Regions from separate parts of the Homo sapiens genome. Here regions 2 and 3 are each linked to region 1. Evidence: promoter capture Hi-C in human tissues and cell types (Jung and others, 2019). All regions are on one chromosome and are shown on one strand. Each heading gives the region's core, a stretch centred on a gene start or on the middle of the fragment in contact. The rest is flanking DNA. Distances are from core to core; before and after follow the strand shown.

The links. Contacts are between HindIII fragments. The study calls those that stand out against the background at their distance.
Region 2: a contact is called between a fragment that was not itself captured here and the fragment with the promoter of APOBEC3H in region 1, in 2 of the 25 tissues and cell types used here (spleen and stomach).
Region 3: a contact is called between the fragment with the promoter of PDGFB here and the fragment with the promoter of APOBEC3H in region 1, in 2 of the 25 tissues and cell types used here (mesendoderm cells and thymus).

What each region holds. Positions count from the first base shown.
Region 1 is chr22:39,094,643-39,099,504 of GRCh38, reverse strand. APOBEC3H (apolipoprotein B mRNA editing enzyme catalytic subunit 3H) reads right to left here and starts at 2,261. Exons shown (of 5, transcript NM_181773.5): 1 at 2,162-2,261. RefSeq lists enhancers at 843-1,729, 2,060-2,399, 1,730-2,617, 1,940-3,139. The HindIII fragment of the contact is 18,686 bases long and covers 1-4,862 here.
Region 2 is chr22:38,919,714-38,924,575 of GRCh38, reverse strand. It overlaps LOC105373032 (a long non-coding RNA gene), which reads right to left. Exons shown (of 3, transcript XR_938256.2): 2 at 3,026-3,400; 3 at 1-459. Among named protein-coding and RNA genes, the nearest start is that of APOBEC3A, 35 kb to the left of the region's middle. The HindIII fragment of the contact is 3,556 bases long and covers 988-4,543 here.
Region 3 is chr22:39,243,732-39,248,593 of GRCh38, reverse strand. It overlaps PDGFB (platelet derived growth factor subunit B), which reads left to right and starts at 3,612. Exons shown (of 7, transcript NM_002608.4): 1 at 3,612-4,693. The coding sequence starts at 4,631. The HindIII fragment of the contact is 11,810 bases long and covers 1-4,862 here.

The sequences.
Region 1 (4,862 bases), core at 1,012-3,511:
CTTGAGGTCCACAGGCCTCTCGACCCCTACATGTCCAATACCAGAACCCTTCCCCTTGGGGAGTGATGGGGTGGAAACTGGGGCTTCCTCCAGCACTGTGCTCTTTGCTCAGGTGTGTGTTTGACAAGTTTGTCTGCACAGAACACAGTTGAGTGAACAGAAAAGCTGTTGTCACCAAGGGAGTGTTGTGACACATTTTTGGCTGAAGAAATTACATAGATTTTGCTCTCCTGAATTGTGATTACATTCTACAGAGGATTCAATTTTGGATTTTGCTTTTTTTTTGTTTTTGAGAGAGAGTCTTGCTCTGTTGCCCAGGCTGGAGTGCAGTGGTCCAATCTCAGCTCACTGCAAGCTCCACCTACCAGGTTCAAGTGATTCTCCCGGGTTCAAGCAATTCTCCTGCCTCAGCCTCCCAAGTAGCTGGAATTACAAGCGCCCTCCTTCATGCCCGGCTAATTTTTGTATTTTTGTAGAGATGGAGTTTTACCATGTTGGCCAGGCTGGTCTTGAACTCCTTTGACCTCAGGTGATCCACCCACCTCGGCCTCCCAAAGTGCTGGGATTATAGGCGTGAGCCACCGCGCCCCGCCAGGATTGTGACCCATGCGCTCACCTCCTGTCTCCCCGAGGGCCTGAGCTCCTTTTCTTTGGCCTGTCTGATTGATGGTTGCCCATCTACTTTCTATTCTGCTTTCTGGAAAACCCCTGAGCATTTCAAGCCTCCAAGTCCTGAGAATTTCTGCAGCTTTCCCAAGCAGGAAGACCAGGGAGAGGAGAAGAGAAGGAGATGCTGGCAGGGGCAGCAGGGCCGGGGTGACCTCTCCCAGCTCAGGGCCCTAGCTCTGGTCTTTCCAGGGATGGATCTCCCATCCTCCCAGTATTTCTGCCACCCATCCTCTAACCCATTAAAAATAAGAAAAGTGAATAAAATTCTCCCCTTCAAAATAAGAGCTCTTAATATTTCAGTTCAATTAATTCCTGGCATTTTACCTATTCATGTTATTTTATTTTATTTTTTTAGTTTTAGTAGATAAGGGGGTCTCCCTGTGTTGCCCAGGCTGGTTTGGAACTCCTGGCCTTTAGTGATGATCCTCCCCTCTCAGCTTCCCAAAGTGTTGGGATTACAGGCATGAGCCATTTTGCCTGGCCAGGCAGGAAAATGGCGTGAACCCAGGAGGTGGAGCTTGTAGTGAGCCGAGATTGCGCTCCAGCCTGGGCAACAGACTGAGACACCCCTTCTCAAAAAAACAAAACGAAACAAAAAATCAGGGTAGCACTTCCATCCCCAGGCCCAGGCCACTCTTCTAAGTGCTGAGAGGATCTGAGCTCACGTGAGGCTGCCCTAGGCCTGCAGGGGCCATTCTCATCTTACAGAGGAGGGGCCAGAGGTGCAGAGAGGTGGGGTAACCTGCCCAGGCCATGGAGCTGGGCCACTTTCCTGGCCAGCCCTGCCAGCCTCTGCATCACGGGCCCTGCAGGAGGGAGCCTTTGGGAACCAGGCTCTCTTCTTCCTAAATTTTAAAATAAAAGCATTTCTCCTGATCATTGAGTTTTTCCGTATATTCCGTGTTACTGGTGTCATTATAAACGGTGAATGTGAATACTGATCATGGAGGAGGAGTGTGTGTTCAGGGTCATCTGCATCCTCCTCTGCCCACAGTGGAGACATCCTTGGAAGAGATGATTTGCCTTGTGCTTCAGAGATCATTGCCTCCCCACACCCTCTCCTAAGACTTTGTATTGAAACAAAGTAATCTTACACAAAGTTCATCAAAGCACTGTGAACAAAATTCCAGATTGCTCCCATCATCCTTTAGTTCAGTTCTCCCAGTTCCAGAGCCCAGGAATGGCAGGAAGCACACAGAGAGAGCACCCTCCCAAGGTGGGGAGCACTAGCCCAGCCATGACTCTTAGGGGAGAGTCTCAGCAGGGGTCTTGGGCTGGTGCAGGCCGGGGAGGCGGCCCGTTCAGAAGCAGCAGTGGGGTGACCACACAGCAGGGCAAAGAGCCTGGGTGGGAGTGGGGATGGCAGGGGAGCCAGAGGAGAAGGAGCCCAGGGCTGGGGCTGGGGCAGCGGGAGGCCAGGGCTGAGGCACAGAAGGGCTGCCAGGCAGGAAGTGGCAGCAGAGGGCCCAGTGGACAGAGTGGGCGGCAGTACCTGATCTGTGCTTCTGGCCACAGCTTCCTTAGCAGACTTGCCCCTGCTTGTCTGAGGCACTAAGTTTCACTTTTGGCAGCTCTCCCAAAAGTCACAAAAGGTCAGCTCTCCCAAAAGTCACAAAAAGTCACTGCTTGATGAGGGTGGCTCCACCCTCTTCCTTTTGTGGGACTGGAGTGGGAGGGCCCTGGGGTGCTTCAGATCCCTCAGGCTCCTTTCTTTCTCTATTTCCTCGGGCTTGGCAGGGGAAGTCTGATGGAGGTGGCTCACCTCCCATCCTCCCACCCCCAATTCCCTCTCCAGGTACAGCCAGACTCAACTCCCTCCCCAGGTATAGTTTACAAAAGAACAAAGGCCAGATGCGGTGGCTCACACCTGTAATCCGAACACTTTGGGAGGCTGAGGTGGGCAAATTACAAGGTAAGGAGATGAAGACCATCCTGGCCAACATGGTGAAACCCCGTCTCTGCTAAAATACAAAAAATTAGCCAGGTTTGGTGGCCTGCGCCTGTAGTTCCAGCTGCTTGGGAGGCTGAGGCAGGGAAATTGCTTGAACCTTGGAGGCAGAGGTTGCAGTGAGCCGACGTCGCACCACTGCACTCCACCCTGGCAACAGAACGAGACCCTGTCTCAAAAAATAAATAAATAAATAAAAATAAAAAAGAAAGAAAAAAGAAAGGAATTGATGGCTGGTCACGGTGCCTGTTATCCCAGCACTTTGGGAGGCTGAGGCAGGTGGATTGCCTGAAGTCAGGAGTTCAAAATCAACCTGGCCAACCGCACTCCAGCCTGGGCAATAAGAACAAAACTCCGTCTCAAAAACTAAACTAAACTAAAATAAATGAAAGGAATAGAAGCCACAGAAAGGAGCAGGGATCCAGACCAGGGCTGACACCATAGACCAGATGCCACTCCCCTGGTGGACAGGGCAGGCTGCAGCCCCCTCCCCACCACCCCACTGACCTTTGGCATTCAGCCTCCTGGCAGGACCCTGAGCCTGATGTGAAATGAGCACTGGGGTCAGGCTCAGGACTGCATCTCCAGCGGATCCAGTGCCCATTATCTAGCCCAGTCCCCAGATAGCACTGGGAGGGGAGGGCAGTGATCCTGACAGTCAGAGGAGGTCCCAAGCACAGAGAGGCTAAGATACTGTCCCCACGTCACACAGCAAATCAACAGCAGAGCTGGAGTGCTGGCCAGGACTTCCTGTGTCCCTTCTCCCCCACAGCTAGCTACTTTGAGGTTCTTCATTGCTCCATGGAAAGGAGCAGGAGAGGAGACACGAGGGAGGGGACTTACTGCTCCTAAAGGGCCTCCCAGGTCAGAGATGAAGGACCTGGACTTCACATTTGCATTCTGGAACCCATGTCCTCGTCTTCATGCATATCAACCAACACCCTTCAGATCATAAACACCAAAGAGCCAGGCCAGGTGCTGTGGCTCACGCCTGTAATCCCAGCACTTCGGGAGGCTCAGGCAGGCTGATGACCTGAGGTCAGGAGTTCGAGACCAGCCTGGGCAACACGGTGAAACCTCGTCTCTACTAAAAATACAAAAATTAGCCAGGCGTGGTGGCGGGCATCTGTAATCCCAGCTACTCAGGAGTCTGAAGCAGGGGAATCATTCGAACCTGGGAGGCAGAGGTTGCAGCGAGCCGAGATTGTGCCACTGCACTCTAGCCTGGTCGACAAGAACGGGACTCTGTCTAAAAGAAAAGAAAAAGAAAAACCAAAGAACCCCTAGGAAAGTTGAATCCCAAGGGCGAGGACTAGGGGCAGTCACTGCGGAGTCTAGGTTCCACACCAAGGAGTCCCATTGAACCTTGCCCAGCTTGTCCCTCCATATCCTCCCGCCCTGCACACCCTGACAGCCCTCTAGACCCTGCATGGCCCCTGGGGTCACAGGAGCTTGGGTGAGAATTTAGAAGGTTCCTGGGAATGGCATCCCCTCCACCCTATCTGTCCTAAATGTTGGGGCTACAGTCCATGGAAGATTCCAGAATGAGCGGGGTCCTGCCAGGAGAGACATCAGATCTGCACACTGTAGTGCTGGTTAATCACAGAGCTGAGTCTCCCAGGCTGAGAAGCAGGGAGGATGGAAAGGAAGGCGGAACCCTTTCCTGGTCCTTCCCACAGGCAGCATTCCCACTACTCCTCCAGTGAATTCCTGCAGCAGAGACCCTGTGGTGTCTAGGACGGGCCTGTGCTTAGGTGTTATCTCCAGGAGGACGGGAGGTTAGGCTGGCCACTCTGGCCTGTGTTCGTTGCTGCAAAGGGGGACCCGATCCAGACCCCAAGAATGGGTTCTTGGATCTCTCACAGGAAAGAACTCAAGCTGAGCCACAGGGTGCGGTGAAGTTGTGATCATTTATTAGAAGCTCCGGCACTACAGACTAGGGAGGCCTCAGAAGGCAGAAGGAAGAACGTCCCGTCTTTGTTTTAAGCTTCTTTTTTTTTTTTTTGAGATGGAGTCTCGCTCTGTCACCCAGGATGTGGTGCAATGGTGCGATCTCGGCTCACTTCAACCTCTGCCTCCCAGGTTTAAGAAATTCTCCTGCCTCAGACTCCCGAGTAGCTGGGTTCACAGGTGTGCAGTGCCACACCCAGCTAATTTCTGTATTTTTAGTAGAGAGGGGATTTCATCATATTGGCCAGGCTGGTTTCAAACTTCTGACTCCTGATCTGCCCACCTCAGCCTCCCA
Region 2 (4,862 bases), core at 1,516-4,015, 180 kb after region 1:
TACAGATTATTTACTTTGTGAGTCATGTGCTAGAAATGGCACTTCAGGACCCGTGCCAGAGTTGAAGCCGCTGTGGCTGAGCAGCGAAGAGCTTTGCTCTGTGAATAAAAGAGGTTGTTCCTCATGCTGCTTTATTCACAGAGAAGAGTTAATGGTCAACAAAATGCTTCTGGACCCTGATTCAGGGTTAAAGGAAGTAATAAAAAGAATACAAACTTCGTCTAATTCTGGATGAGCTCAATATTGGCACAGCTTTTCAGCCTGCTGTGAGGAAACACAGGTAGTATGCAGGTCAGTACACTTCCAGTCGGGGATGACAGAAATTCAATTTCAAGTGGATTAAACAATAAATGGAACCAATTAAAGCATTTGTGATGTCAGGGCTCTGGCTCTGGCTCGCTGCAGGTGCCTTGGCTCTGTTCTCTTCCTTGCGTTGCCTTCTTTTCAGACCAGCGTCTCCTGTGGTAGAAAAATTGTTACAGCAGCGCCAAGCCCACAGTACGCCCCACCTATCTGGACCAACAGAGAGTCTCTGTCTCCCACAATTCCCAGGAAGGTCCTGAGGTTAGCATGGATTAGACTGGCTCAGGGCACGTGTCCACTCCTGAGCCAATCACGGTGTGGCTGGGGGTGGAACCCACTTACTGCTCCACCCCTGCCCTGATGGCAGCAAACAGCAAAGCAGCAGCAAAAAGGAGAGAAGGGAGTGAGGGAAGAAAGGAGGAGGGAGCAGAGGAAGGGAAGGAGAGAAAGGAGGGAGGGAAGAAAGGAGGAGGGAGCAGAGGAAGGGAAGGAGAGAAGGGAGGGAGGGAAGAAAGGAGGAGGGAGGAGAGGAAGGGAAGGAGAGAAGGGAGGGAGGGAAGAAAGGAGGAGGGAGGAGAGGAAGGAGGAAGGGAGGGAGAGAGAGGAAGAAAGAAATGAAGATCTCATGGATATGAGAACATAATTAATGTTTCAAACACTCTCTTTAAATTTAAAATCATTGATGAAACTCTACTTTTTTTTGAATTACAATTGATGATCTATGAATGTGCCAAATGCCCATTCAGTGGTCTGTGGTGTGAAACGTTGAGAAAGGATGCCTCGAGATGCTTCTAACACCTAAAAATACCCCTTGCAGGCCAGCTGTGGTGGCTCATGCCTGTAATCCCAGCACTTTGGGAGGCCGAGACAGGCGGATCACTTGAGGTCAGGAATTTGAGACCAGCCTGGCCGACATGGTGAAACCCCGTCTCTACTAAAATACAAAAATTAGCCTTGCATGGTGGTGTGCCCCTGTAGTCCCAGCTACTTGGGAGGCTGAGGCATGAGAATCACTTGAACCTGGGAGGCGGAGGTTGCAGTGAGCCGAGATCACGCCATTGCACTCCAGCCTGGGCAACAAGAGTGAAACTCTGACTCAAAGGGTCATGGACCCTTTGCAGATCCATGTTCTCCTAAGTAGCAAATACTTAGGCAATTATTACAAATGAATTCCCCTAATAAAACTCTCCTCCCACCTCCTCCTCACAGGACATGGAGTCAGTGCATGGCAGGGAGAGAGCTGGGAGCGTCAGGCCAGGCTTTCCACTGCGGTGTCTTTCTGGGTGTCAGCTGCACCACTGTCCTGAACTCTGTGCTGACCGGGCACTAGTCTGGTGTTTGAGACCACAGTGGGGACAGCACCAGCCCCACGTCGTTGGCGCTGTCTACAGGCTGTCCCCACCAAGGCAGCCCCTCTCTCTGCCCGGTCCTCTGTGGCTCTGCTTCTCCTTCAGCTCCTTCATCCTACCCCCTTGTCAGTCTGGTTTCTCTGTTTGTACAAGGATTTGACACCTGTCCCAAAAGGGCACCCTCAGCTCTGGGTCTCCTCACCTTCCAGGTCTGACAGCCAAGGCTAACCTATGATAACCACTGGTTCTCGATTCTAAATCTCCAGAAGAGAGAATCTGATTTGTGCAGCCTGCATCAGGCATCCACTCCTGGACCAACCAGGAAGCCTACGGGGCCCACCAGTGTGGGTAATATGAGAAACATGCTCACCTGTCCAAACCCAAAGGATGAACTTAGAGACATAGAGAATTGCAGAGGTGAGACTTGTGTTGTTGTTGTTGTTTTGTTTTTGTTTTGTTTTGTGACAGAGTTTCACTCTTGTCACTCAGGCTGGAGTGCAATGGTTCCATCTCGGCTCACCGCAACCTCCGCCTCCTGGGTTCAAGTGATTCTCCTGCCTTAGCCTCCCGAGTAGCTGGGATTACAGGCATGCACCACCATGCCCAGCTAATTTTGTAGGTTTTTTCTTTGTTTTTGTTTTTTTTTAGTAGAGATGGGGGTTTCTCCATGTTAGTCAGGCTGGTCTTGAACTCCCGACTTCAGGGGATCTGCCTGCCTTGGCCTCCCAAAGTCTGGGATTACAGGCATGAGCCACTGCGCCCAGCCAGAAGTGAGACTTTTAATGACAGTCTTGCAAGATCTGGTGTCTGGTAGGCAGGCACACCCAGTACAGTTACAACAAGCAATGTATCCCCTAGTAGGCAAGTCCCTCCCCCGGTTCCTCATAGGCTGAGTACCATGGGGTCACCATCTTCCCAGACATCACCTATTGGTCGTTGGGTTGGGGCTTTTAGGTGTTTACTTTAGGGTTGTCTCGCTGCAGTTTGTTGTGGCCCATAATGCACTGCAATCATAGTCAGCTAAGGTGCTCTTCAAGTATTTGACTTATGACCCAGGTGGCCAGGCAAGCTGATAAGAATAGATAAAGTGAGCTATTTTTCAGGCTAGTAAACTTTCATTCTAGACTAAACGCTTTGCTTTGGGTGGGGGTAACTAAGGGGGCCCTGACCAGCAGGGGTCTAGTATATCCTGTCCATCCGCAGGTTGTGGGCCCAAGCCTATTTGAGGCACTTTGCCTTGGAAATGGGCCACCGTAGACATTATTTCCTACAGTAGGAGAGAAGCTTGAAGCAAAGGGGACATTGACTCCGTAAGTACTTTAAAGCATGTCTACAAATCCTTTGAAAGACATCCTGACATCCTCCAAACGTACCTTGTGAAGACGGCTCATAAGGGCAACGCAGCCTAGATGGAGCAACAGGTGGACAGTCTCAAGCCGACCGTGCAGAATTAGGAAAAGCCCCAGCAGACCAGAAAAATCTCCATTCCCTGGTGACATGGGGAGAAAGCTGGCCTGACATGGCTCCAGAGCTGGCAGCACCTCTGGGTCCTGATAGAAGTCTGGGTGGCTGCCAAGCTGAGTCATCCAGGAGCTAAGGGAAACGACCTACCTGTAGCTAAGACCAAGCCTCACACCCCATCACCTGGGCTGGATCTTGTTCTCCTGCCAGATCTGTCGTATCTTTATTGGCTCTCCCAGTGACGGCTTCTGTGGTTGGAAATCATTCATTAGTTTTGCTGCCTGAAACTGAACCATAAATGAGGCACTGAGACAGGGGAAAAGCCTGGTCCATGTCGAGATCTGAGCTCAACCCTAGACCTAAGCTCCTGACTCCATACCCTGATTAGCAACAGCTGCCATCACAAAACCAATTTTTTTTTTTTGAATTTCGCTCTTTTTGCCCAGGCTGGAGTGCAATGGTGCAATCTCAGCTCACTGCAACCTCTGCCTCCTGGGTTCAAGCGATTCTCTTGCCTCAGCCTCCTGAGTAGCTGGGATTACAAGCACATGACACCATGCCCACCTAATTTTGTATTTTTAGTAGAGCCAGGGTTTCACCATGTTGGCCAGACTGGTCTCGAACTCTTGACCTCAGGTGATCCGCCCGCCTCGGCCTCCCAAGGTAGTGGGATTACAGGCATGAGCCACCATGCCCAGCAGACAAAACTAACTTTCTAAGCTTTTAACATGACCCTCAGACATTAACCAAGATGCTTGTCTAGACCACAAGCCCATTTTTCTTTTGTAGAATTTGCATTTCTCTCCTTGCATAAGAAGGAAGTATCCAGTGATGGTGAGAAAAACATGGGATCAGCAAGACCTGGGTTCGAGCCCTAGATTCCCCACTTAGGAGCCACAGAGTCTCACTCAGGAGGCTCACTTCTATGAGGCTGAATCTTGATTGGGAAATTTGTGATAAATCTCCTATGAGAATTAAGTGAAAGACCCTAATATCAAATGCCTGACACATACTTGGACCTCAAATTTGAGCCCTTTTGCTCTCCTTAGAGGAGGGATGAAAGCATAACTTATCCTGAGTGCAGATGCACCTCATTTAATTGGGATTCACTTTACTGAGTCACAGATGCTGTGTTTTTTTTTACACATGGAAGGTTTTTGGCAACCCTGCATCGAGCAAGTGTATTGGCATGATTTTCCCAACAGTAGGTACTCACTTTCAGGTCTCTGTGTCACATCGGTAAATTCCCACAATATTTCAGACTTTTTCATTATTATTATATCTGTTACAGGGATCTGTGATCAGTGTCTTTGATGTTACCACTGTAATTGTTTTCAGGCATCACAAACCACACCCACATAAGACAGCAAACTTAGTTGATAAATGTTGTGTGTGTTCTGACTGCTCCACCAACAGCTGTTCCCCATCTCTCTCCCTCTGCCCTGGCCTCCCTATTCTCTGAGATGTAACAATATTGAATTTAGGCCAATTAATAACCCTACAATGGCCTCTCAGTGTTCAAGTGAAAGGAACTGTCACATATCTCTTGCTTTCAATCAAAAGCTAGAAATGATTAGGCTTAATGAGGAAGGAATGTCAAGAAACAAGATAGGCTGAAAGCTAGGCCTCTTCCACTATGCAGTTAGCCAAGTTGTGAATGCAAAGGAAAAGCCTTTGAAGGAAATTAAAAGTGCCACTCCAATGAGTACATGAATGATAAGAAAGTGAAACAGGCTTACTGCTGATATG
Region 3 (4,862 bases), core at 2,363-4,862, 150 kb before region 1:
GTCAGGACTCAGAAAGAGAAATTGGCAGGATTTTAATCATTTATTCATTCCTTCAGCGAGCGGCACTTCCTGAGCAGCCACTGTATGCTAGGAGCTGGCAGGAGGCCCTTGAACACTCTGGACTCAGTCTAGTGCTAGATTGATGATCAGGCCATGACGATGCCAGGTGTGCATGCTGTGGAGCCTGGAACAAGTGCCAAGCCTGGTGGGCCTTCTGGAGGAGGTGCCTGCTACACCCAGCCTGGCAGGAGGCAGACGATCAGGTGTTATTAAAAAAAAATTTTTAGGCTGGGTGTGGTGGTTCATGCCTGTAATCCCAGCACTTCGGGAGGCTGAGTGGGGCAGATCACTTGAGGTCAGGAGATCGAGAGCACCCTGGTCAACATGGTGAAACCGTCTCTACTAAAAATACAAAAATTAGCTGGGCATGGTGGCAGGCGCCTGTGGTCTCAGCTACTCGGGAGGCTGAGGCAGGAGAATCGCTTGAACCTGGGAGGCAGAGGTTGCAGTGAGAAGAGATCGCACCACGGCACTCCAGCCTCGGCGACAGACCGAGACCCCGTCTCTGAGATGGCTCACTGCAGTCTTGAACTCCTGGGCTCAGGGGATTCTCCCTCCTGACTCAGCCTCCTGAGTAGCTGGGGCCACACTCAGATATATATATATATATATATATATATATATATATATATATATATATATATTTTTTTTTTTTTTTTTTTTTTTTTTTGGTAATTTTTTTTAAGAGATGGGATCTCGCTATGTTGCTGAGGCTGGTCTCGAACTCCTGGCTGCACATGATCCTCTGGCCTCAGCCTCCCAAATTGCTGGGAATACAGGGGTGAGCCACCGTGCCTGGGGAGGTGTTCTTTACAGACTGTTCCTCTGCACAGAGAAGGTACAAGAAAGGAGCCCTTAGCACAACATTCAGGCCCAGGTGTCACGCAGGTGTCACGTAGCATTCAGGCCCAGGTGTCTGCTGGGCCCTCTTCTGCCACTTCTAACCCATGTACTGGCACCTGCACTGCAATGATTTGGGTCTATCTCACTGAGAGCATGGGAAGTCCCTGAGTGCCGAGGCTGGGACTCCTTCCTCATTCCATTTCTCAGCGCTTCACACAGGGTCTGCAAACAGTAGGCGTTCTACGATGCTGCTCTGAGTAGCCTTCCCTCTCCCTCAACTTGTACCTAAGTCAGAGTTCATATGGGTCCATCACTTTTTAGCTGGCAGAGCAGGTTCCCACATATTAATGCATGTGGCGCTCACCAAAGCGCTGTGTCAAAAGTGTCATCATTGTCATCAGCATCACCTGCCAGAAAATTGCACAGCACGGTGGTCTCAGCATGTGGGCTCTGTAGCTGGACTGCTCAGATTCAAGTCCTGGCCTTACCACTTACGGGCTGTGTGACCTTGAACAAGTGTATTGGCCTCTCTGTGCTTCCATTTCCCCATCTGTAAGATAGGAATAACACATCTCACAGGAGCATGGAGAGGCTACAGGTAGAGTAAGAAAAACACTAGCTACCACATAGTCAGCTCACTAATCATGGTAGTTGTTACCATTCTATTTATAGAAGACACAGAAGGTCAAGGTCAAATGACCCAGCTGTCCGGTGGAAGAGGGTTTTTATCTCTGAGTCGTTAGACTTCAAATCTAGTGTTTGGGGGTTATCTCCTCGTCCCGCTGCCCCATCTCCCTTGTCACCCTGTCTCCTAATTTATCTGTTTATACATCTGGTTGTCCTTCTCAATGGGGCTCTTCAAAGGCAGGGGCCTGCATTAGGCTGGTTCACACCTGTCTCCCCAGTGCCTGGAGCAGTGCGGGGCCACCAGTGAACTTGAAGGCTGCATGGAAGGTTCCAGGCGCTTGCTTCCTGCTAAGGTGTTTTGCTGAGCGCCTCCACATGGAGGACCTCATGGGAGCCTCCAGACCACTCCAGGAGCAGGGTAAAAATTCTCTACAACTGCACTGAGGTACAACAAACTGCACACATTTTGTTGTGATGTACGTATACACCCATAAGCCCATCACCACAATCAAAAATGACAAACATTTCCATCACCACTAAAATTTTGCCATGCCTCTCTGTTCTCTCTCACTCCTTCCCATTATAGATTTATTTTTATTTCTTTAGAGATAGGGTCTTGCTCTGTTGCCCAGGCTGGAGTGCAGTGGCACAGTCACAACTCACTGCAGCCTCAAACTCCTGGGCTCAAAACGATCCACAGTCTCCTGAGTAGCTGGGACTACAGGAGCTTGTTACCACACCCAGCTCCAGTTTATAAATTCATCTCCAGTTTATAAAGGAGGAAACCGAGGTACTGAGAGGTTAAAAAACCTTCCTGCAGACACTTGTCCAGCAAGTGGCCACTCCAGGATTTGGACCAAGGTGATGTGTCTTCAGGCTGTGTCTCTGCCACTGTGCCACGCTGCTGGGTGGTAGGCAGCAGTGGGTGGGTGCCTGCAGTGGTCTGTAAAGACCACCTGAGATGTCCTTCCTCCTCTGTTCCACCCTGTCCAGGTCCAAGAAGACAGTCTATGAAGAGAGAGCAGGTGTGACTCTCTCAGTGTGCTCCTCTGTGAGAAGCAGGCTGACATCCCAAAGGGAAGGGCGGATAACAGAGACAGTGCAAGCGGAGGAGATGAGGGTGCCTCAAAGCCGGGAGGCTGGGTGATGCAGGAGCCTGCGTGTCCCGAGGGGGGTGCTGGGCCCAGTGTGAGTACGTGTGACTGTGACTGAGACAGTGTGACTGCTGAAGGCAGGGACACAGCAGCTCCCTGACTGGGGGCAGAAGGCGTTAACTGTGTGAAGGCTGGTTGTGGGTGGGTGGGCTCTGGGCCTCGAACCCGGGGGCTGAGGGAGATAGTAAACAGCAGGGTGACTGACGGGAAGATCATGTTGGTAGCCCTGCGAAGATGCTGCAGGGCTGTGGGGGTTTGTGTGACTTTGCAGTTCAACAAATTCAAATTCAGCCAACGCTGGCAGGGCCTGTTGTGCCAGGCAACCAGCTAGGAGGAGGAGACTCGGACCCAGCTTGCAGCTGAAGGGCGCTGGCTGCCGGGTTCTGTGGGTTCACCTTGCGGTGTCTTCCCTTGCTAACACTGAGTCCTTACAATAGCCCCATCTCCAGGTTGAGGCTAGATGGAGGGGACAGAGGGAAGTGACTTGCCCAAGGTGACCCAAGCTCCCGAGTGCCAGGGCAGGATCTGAATTCAGGCTCTCAGACTGCAGAGCCTGAGTCCCTCCCTGCCATGCCTGTGCCAGGGTGGAAATGTCTGGTCCTGGAGGGGAGCGTGGACTCCTGGCCTTGGCTCTGGAGACATCCCCCTAGACCACGTGGGCTCCTAACCTGTCCATGGTCACTGTGCTGAGGGGCGGGACGGTGGGTCACCCCTAGTTCTTTTTTCCCCAGGGCCAGATTCATGGACTGAAGGGTTGCTCGGCTCTCAGAGACCCCCTAAGCGCCCCGCCCTGGCCCCAAGCCCTCCCCCAGCTCCCGCGTCCCCCCCCTCCTGGCGCTGACTCCGGGCCAGAAGAGGAAAGGCTGTCTCCACCCACCTCTCGCACTCTCCCTTCTCCTTTATAAAGGCCGGAACAGCTGAAAGGGTGGCAACTTCTCCTCCTGCAGCCGGGAGCGGCCTGCCTGCCTCCCTGCGCACCCGCAGCCTCCCCCGCTGCCTCCCTAGGGCTCCCCTCCGGCCGCCAGCGCCCATTTTTCATTCCCTAGATAGAGATACTTTGCGCGCACACACATACATACGCGCGCAAAAAGGAAAAAAAAAAAAAAAAGCCCACCCTCCAGCCTCGCTGCAAAGAGAAAACCGGAGCAGCCGCAGCTCGCAGCTCGCAGCTCGCAGCCCGCAGCCCGCAGAGGACGCCCAGAGCGGCGAGCGGGCGGGCAGACGGACCGACGGACTCGCGCCGCGTCCACCTGTCGGCCGGGCCCAGCCGAGCGCGCAGCGGGCACGCCGCGCGCGCGGAGCAGCCGTGCCCGCCGCCCGGGCCCCGCGCCAGGGCGCACACGCTCCCGCCCCCCTACCCGGCCCGGGCGGGAGTTTGCACCTCTCCCTGCCCGGGTGCTCGAGCTGCCGTTGCAAAGCCAACTTTGGAAAAAGTTTTTTGGGGGAGACTTGGGCCTTGAGGTGCCCAGCTCCGCGCTTTCCGATTTTGGGGGCCTTTCCAGAAAATGTTGCAAAAAAGCTAAGCCGGCGGGCAGAGGAAAACGCCTGTAGCCGGCGAGTGAAGACGAACCATCGACTGCCGTGTTCCTTTTCCTCTTGGAGGTTGGAGTCCCCTGGGCGCCCCCACACGGCTAGACGCCTCGGCTGGTTCGCGACGCAGCCCCCCGGCCGTGGATGCTCACTCGGGCTCGGGATCCGCCCAGGTAGCGGCCTCGGACCCAGGTCCTGCGCCCAGGTCCTCCCCTGCCCCCCAGCGACGGAGCCGGGGCCGGGGGCGGCGGCGCCCGGGGGCCATGCGGGTGAGCCGCGGCTGCAGAGGCCTGAGCGCCTGATCGCCGCGGACCCGAGCCGAGCCCACCCCCCTCCCCAGCCCCCCACCCTGGCCGCGGGGGCGGCGCGCTCGATCTACGCGTCCGGGGCCCCGCGGGGCCGGGCCCGGAGTCGGCATGAATCGCTGCTGGGCGCTCTTCCTGTCTCTCTGCTGCTACCTGCGTCTGGTCAGCGCCGAGGTGAGTTGCCACGGCGGCTGGGGCTGGTTCTTCATTCATTACCTTCGCCCCCCCCTTCTGACCGCCCCCTCCTCTCCCTGCAGTGAACTTTGGACCCTTGCAGCCCGCGAGCCTGACGCCGGGCGCTGGGTGACCTCTTCGGGCTGGGAGCGAGGTCCGGGGGTGACAG